Linked DNA regions of Homo sapiens: region 1 is linked to region 2. The links are contacts of gene promoters, found by promoter capture Hi-C in blood cells and fetal thymus (Javierre and others, 2016). All regions are on one chromosome and are shown on one strand. Each heading gives the region's core, a stretch centred on a gene start or on the middle of the fragment in contact. The rest is flanking DNA. Distances are from core to core; before and after follow the strand shown.

What was found. Contacts are between HindIII fragments. The CHiCAGO score rates a contact against its expected background, and 5 or more counts as called.
Region 1: a contact is called between a fragment that was not itself captured here and the fragment with the promoter of CCDC150 in region 2, in 1 of 17 cell types (total B cells). The highest score is 5.2, in total B cells.

Annotation. Positions count from the first base shown.
Region 1 is chr2:197,713,855-197,716,925 of GRCh38, reverse strand. No RefSeq gene overlaps it. Among named protein-coding and RNA genes, the nearest start is that of MARS2, 10 kb to the right of the region's middle. The HindIII fragment of the contact is 6,138 bases long and covers 1-3,071 here.
Region 2 is chr2:196,638,306-196,641,587 of GRCh38, reverse strand. It overlaps CCDC150 (coiled-coil domain containing 150), which reads right to left and starts at 1,873. Exons shown (of 28, transcript NM_001080539.2): 1 at 1,810-1,873. The coding sequence starts at 1,821. LOC105373823 (a long non-coding RNA gene) reads left to right here and starts at 1,903. Exons shown (of 2, transcript XR_923747.3): 1 at 1,903-2,192; 2 at 3,021-3,160. RefSeq lists enhancers at 1,012-1,549, 1,550-2,087, 2,072-2,121, 2,142-2,361. The HindIII fragment of the contact is 4,677 bases long and covers 1-3,080 here.

The DNA.
Region 1 (3,071 bases), core at 443-2,942, 1.1 Mb before region 2:
ATTCAAGTGTACAACAAGGCATTTTTGTTCCACACCATCTGTAAATTTTAAGAGTCTGAGAGTCATTGTATATTAGTTCAAGAAAGATTGATATCGAAGTGTTTTTCTTAGCTATTTTAGGCAATTGGCTCTTTACCAAAATGTATTGATGTGCTTCCACATTACTTTCGTTCAGTTCTACAAATATTATATATTACTTTATTTCTCACTCCAAACTATAAAGTACAGAAGAACAGAGATGGTAGGAAAATTTATTAATGTATTCCCCCCAAAAAACTTACTCTGCTTAAATTGTGATATTTGGCTCTTATTTTGTAATATAACATATCCATGATAGCAAAAATACCTTTAATAACTACAAAAGATCAATGCTTTAACTTTTAATTATCAACATCATTTTTATAAATCATGGTATAAAAATGAATGAAGATACCGAGACTAAACTTTCATCTTTAACCTCATACAGCTGTGAAACAACACAATGATAGTATATAAACGTTTCATTACTATAAAAAGTATTGCCTAAAAAGCATACCTTTTTTTCCTTTGATGTTTTGGAGAAAACATCTAAAGGATGATAATTTTAAAGTATTCATTAACAATTTGAGATGATTTTAATACAATGTGTATTAATTGCTAATCACACTCAGGATCTTTGCTTTTAACATGTCTAATTTTGATACCAAAATAAAGCTACACAATATTCATTTATATATTTGTAGCAACACATAAAAGAAATTTCCTAAAATCCTTATTAGTATCTGAACTATTACGCATAGTATTTTAAAAGATACTAATACGTGTAAATTTTTCCTGCCCTATATAGGTACCCACATACTGACTTCAGTTAACCTGTTAGCATTATTTTATTCAGGCTATTTCCAACTGTCTGTGAGAATAGCTTTCAATTAAAGTAACATATTTAATATCCTAATGTTGTCTATTTCCTTATGTCTAAGGAAAAATGAACATAAATGCAGCAACAATCCTACGTTTACCAAATAGATTTTCATGCTTATGCCCTAGCTGTTTAGACAATTTGTTTAAAACTCTTGAGCTCAGACTCACCTACCTACCTTCACATACTGAATATTTAAACATCTGCCTCAACCAACTTACCAAGGATGAGTTTCGATAACTTGGTTTAACTTGGGTAGTCCCCTTCTCTCTACTCTGTGTTAAGCAATAAGATTTCACTATTTTTCCTATGTTTTTCTAACTGATATCATACTGATTTCAATTTTTACAATAGCTACACAGTTATACATTTATATTGGTTTTATGCCCCAGTGCTGATAGCTCCACTTTTAGATCATCTCCATGGATTATGGAAAAAGAAAGAAGTGCTACATATTCTCCTTAAGCTAAAAAACTAATTTTAGGACATCAGTTACAACCAAAAGTTTTATTTAAAATTTGTTATGAATTAACTACCTTCTAGAGGCTGATTTTTATGTACATAACATTTAAATAAGAAAAAACTTACTATTTTGAGGACTATTATTATTGTTTGTAGTAGGTCAAACAATATCACAATGAATGTTAAAAATATTTCCTTTATAGCCAAGCCAAAAAATACTTTTTTCAACTCTTAAAATGGCACGAAAATGCAATCATCAGCGTTCATGCAATTAACCATATATATTTTCAAAAATTTGCTTATGTTAGTACTTATAATTTTATTCTATAAATCAATAGGCTTCTCACACATTTTAACTTGATATAATGTTCCAGTAATTACTTATAAAATCAAACAGAACTCAGTACTGTTTTGCTTTTTATATAAAATATAGGATGTTTCTGTAAAATAAATTTTATAGAAATTTAAATGTAAAAAATTAATGCAGTAACTTCAATTTACCAAAATTGAAGACTCTTTACGAAAGCCTTTATAAGCCGGGAGCGGTGGCTCACACCTGTAATCCCAGCACTTTGGGAGGCCTTTCTTACCTTACGAGGTCAGGAGTTCAAGACCAGCCTGGCCAAGATGGTGAAACCCCGTCTCTACTAAAAATACAAAAATTAGCCAGGCACGGTGGCAGGTGGCTATAATCCCAGCTACTCAGGAGGCTGAGGCAGGAGAATTGCTTGAACTCGGGGGACAGAGGTTGCAGTGAGCCGAGATCACGCCACTGCACTCCAGCCTAGGCAGCAGAGTGAGACTTCACCTCAAAAAAAAAAAAAGAGAAAGCCTTTATAAATTCCTTAAGTGAGTTTTAAAGGTAATCTAAAATATGCTACCCAGGACATTTTGTATGATCTATCAATCTGATTCTGTCAAAAAGTCGTAACCTGCCATACCAAAAAAAAAAACTGAAAAAGCACCCATCATGCTTTGCTGTGGGACTATACTGCTTGCATTTAGACAGAATCCTGAAAAAAATTATTTAAACATGGAATAAAAATATAGGTCTTCCTGGCCTTCCAAGTTAGCAAGAACTTTAATGCCTTTTGATATTTTTTAAATACATTTTCGATGATAGCTAAGAGACCTATATAAAAATAAGATTCAACACATTTCTTCAAAGACACATCATGTCCAACAAAATAGCTACACTTCAGAAAAAATGTAAAATACAGCATTGTGTATTCATTATGCAATTCATAGTAAAGTCTCTTAGTTTGGGGGTATAAGAGCTTATCTCAACTGTGATATGAGGTGTTTAATTTACCAGGAATTATCCAATCTGTGGCATTTTAGCTAACAGGGTGGTATTTGCTTTGGTAATAACCACTGTCAAGGATATTTAATCTGGTTTCTGCAGGCTTGTTAGGAAAGATATAAGAATACAGTAATAAATGTTCGATAAATTCATAGAACTTAAATTGTTAATAAATGGATGTCATATTAATAAGTTCATTTGCATTAAAACTGTATGTATGAAAAAGTTTCAGTGTTTGTGGCCTCTAATAAAATTATCTGGCTTTGTCACTATAATAGTTAATTCAAATAAAACTTTTGAATGTTGATGTTTTCATGTTCAGAGATAAATGTATATTTAAATAATTAGTAAAATATCATTAAAAAATACTTAGATTCATGAATTTATGACTATATACTTTCACTTAGA
Region 2 (3,282 bases), core at 624-3,123:
GTTTGTTTATTGGTGATAAGTGCAAAGGAGGAAAATGAAATAGGAAAGAACATGGTATGGAGGCTACAGGGCAGATTTTCATTTTAAACAGGGTGGTCAAAGAAGGCCTCATAACATTTGAGCAAAGACCTGTTATATAGATATCAGAGGGCAGAAAGGCCCAGAAGACGGAAACAGCAAGTGCAAAGGCCTGAAGTTAGAAGGTCTGATGAGTCCGCACATAATAAAGAGGTGGGTTTGGCTGGAGAGGAAGGAGTAACACAGAGAACATTGAGAGATGAGGTCAGACGGTAATAATAAAACCAGAATACGGCTGGGCGCGGTGGCTCACGCCTGTAATCCCAGCACTTTGGAAGGCCGAGGCGGGCAGATCAAGAGGTCAGGAGATCGAGACCATCCTGGCTAACACGGCGAAACCCCGTCTCACTAAAAATACAAAAATAAAAATAAAAAAAAAATTAGCCGGGCGTGGTGGCGTGCTCCTGTAGTTTCAGCTACTCGGATGGCTGAGGCAGGAGAATGGTGTGAACCCAGGAGGCGGAGCTTGCAGTGAGCTGAGACTGCTGCACTCCAGCCTGGGCGACAGAGCGAGACTCCGTTTCAAAAAAACAAAAAACAGAATACACAGAGCCTTGAAGGCCATTGTAGAAGTCTGGCTTTTGCTGTCAGTGATTCTCAGAGTCACTGGAGGTCTATAGCTGAGGAATGCTATCCAACTTTCCTTTTAACTGGATCATTTTGACTCCCTCCCACTCCAAATGGTGGAAGAACAAAAGCAGAAGTAGAGATGCTGCTGGCCAGAACCAAGGTGACAGCAGCGGTATTCCTACTGTAAGAAGTGGTTAGTGGTTAGATATACTTGAAAGATAGCTTTTGCTGATGCATTAGATATGAGATATGAGGGAAAGGAAGAAGCCAAGATTACTACAGGGTTTTTGGCCTGGATGGTGCTATCACTGAGACAATGCAAACTTATTAAGGAAGAATCCGTTTTGTGGAAAAGATAAAGAGTAGTTTTTAAAATGTCAAATTTAAAACATGAAAGATACCAAATACATTATTGAATTTGTGGATCTGAAGTTTGGGGGTGAGGTGTGGACTGGAGACTAATTTCTGAAGAGCTCAAGAAAACCATAAGGCGGGATAACAGAGAACACAAAGGATTAAAGGACCTAGTCCTGAGCACGCCAAGATTAACAAATTAGAAGCATGTGTTGGGGGGCATTTAAGACGGACTAATACGAACTTCTCTAAAGTGGGGTTAAAAATAGACATTTTTCTATCTTTAGAGCCTAATACAGTGCCTGGGAAATTATAGGTGGTAAATAAACAGGAGAATACTTCGACAGGAATTTAACGAATGTCTATTCCGTTCTAGCAAGAGCGCCAGGTACTGCGGAAACCGTAAAGAACAAGTGCAAATTCCTGACACCTATATTCTGGTAAGCAAGCCAGGGAGGATTAACTGGTGGCAAAAATCAAACATTAACGCCGAAATAGCCTTCCCAGGAACCTATTAAACTCCAACTTAACACATAAATAAAGGTGGTATTGGGCTTATCTGGAGGCTTCGGTGGCTATCTCCCATCCCTCAGCTGGAGCCAGGCCAATGCAAACTTCGCTCCTAAATGGCTTTCACCGGCAGCCAACGCCAAAGCGCCTTAAATCAGGGCCCTGAGGTCCAGGGAGTGAGACTGGACTCCGTCAGGACAGGGAGAGGGCGCCAGGGAGTGGTGACTGTCCTTATCTGAGCCGAAGCCTCGCGAGCCTCCGACCACCCCTCACCAGCCCGGGGCCCGGCAGCCTCACCTTACAGTCCATCTGTCCGCCTGAGGCTCCGTACTGCAGCAGGCGAGCGGGTTTCCGTGGAACTAACACAGCATTTTAAACCAACCCGCTCCCCGGCGCAGTAGCTCCGGTACGCAGGCGCACCCGTGGCAGGGCATGTCGGGAACTGTAGTTTTCCCGGCCCAGGAGGGCCCTCAGCCCTGGGCGGGACCCAGGCCGGCATCCGGCGGCGCTCAGGGAATGCGTAGCGCCGTGAACCGAATGGCGGCAGGCTCCACTGTGCTCGCGAGCGGGGCACGCCGGGATATGTAGTTTCCGGCGCCTGCCCTCCGGGGGGTCCTGTGCTGCCCACTTCACAGTGACTTGTCTCCGCCTGGTGAACTCGCGGTGTTCTGCTAATCTTGGTAAATACATACCCTACAGCAGAGTAACGAGCATAAAAATTGGTTAAAAATTCAGAGCTTAAACATTCTTCTCGTTAAAGGAAAAATCAAGTCCCTCTTCGTCCTCGTCCATGATGGCCACATGGAGAGTAAAACACAGAAATCTGTTTTCAGGTCTTTCGTCTCTTCAGCATAAATTATTTCTTGCCCTGTCTACAAGTTAATAGGTATTTGTAAATCTGAGTGTAAGTAGCTATGAAACGGAAAAGAGCATTGAGCTGTCCCTGGTTTTTTTGGTGGTTTGCTTTTTTGAGATAGGGTCTTCCTCTGTCGCCAAGGGTGGATTACGGTGGTGCGATCTCGACTCACTGCAGCCTCGACCTCCCGAGCTCAAGCGATCCTCCCATCTCAGCCTCCCCAGTATCTGGGACCACAGGCGCGCGCCACCACGTCTGGCTAATTTTTGTATTTTTTCGTGGAGGCGGGGTCATCACCATATTGCTCAGGCTGGTCTCTTTGGGCTCGAGCCATCCGCCCACCTCGGCCTCCCAAAGTCCTGGGATTACAGGCGTGCATCACCACACCAGCGTTTCTGAGTTGTTTTGCTTTAAGAATATGTATTCTCACTTAAGGGAAAGCCTTCTATAGTGCAAAGACGCGGCTTTGCGTTTTGGTAGCTGGACAGAACACCTGTTATCCCTGCCAGGGCAATTAAAATGCATTTCTCTCTTCTCCCTGAGAGTGCAGCCAAGAATCACTTCAGCCCTCTCATATAAGCAATCAGATCCGAGATGAGAGCTCATTTACTTAGCCTGACAATTGATCTTGCTATTCTAATTCTTTTCATAGCGGAGCCTCAATGTGAGATGCAGAGACTGCCCATCAAACCACAGCCATATTCATCAAGCTTTGAGCCGATCCGGTGAAGAGAAATGAGCACTGCATACATTATTCAGAGAAAGGGACCAAATAAAGCTTTTAATAGGAAATGAAAATGTATTTTAAAGCGTCAGTGCAAACAGCCAATTATTTTCATTATGTATGTTTTATCTTGCAATGACCTCTGGTTTATCAGTGGAATTAAGAGATGAGTGATACATGTATCCACGTG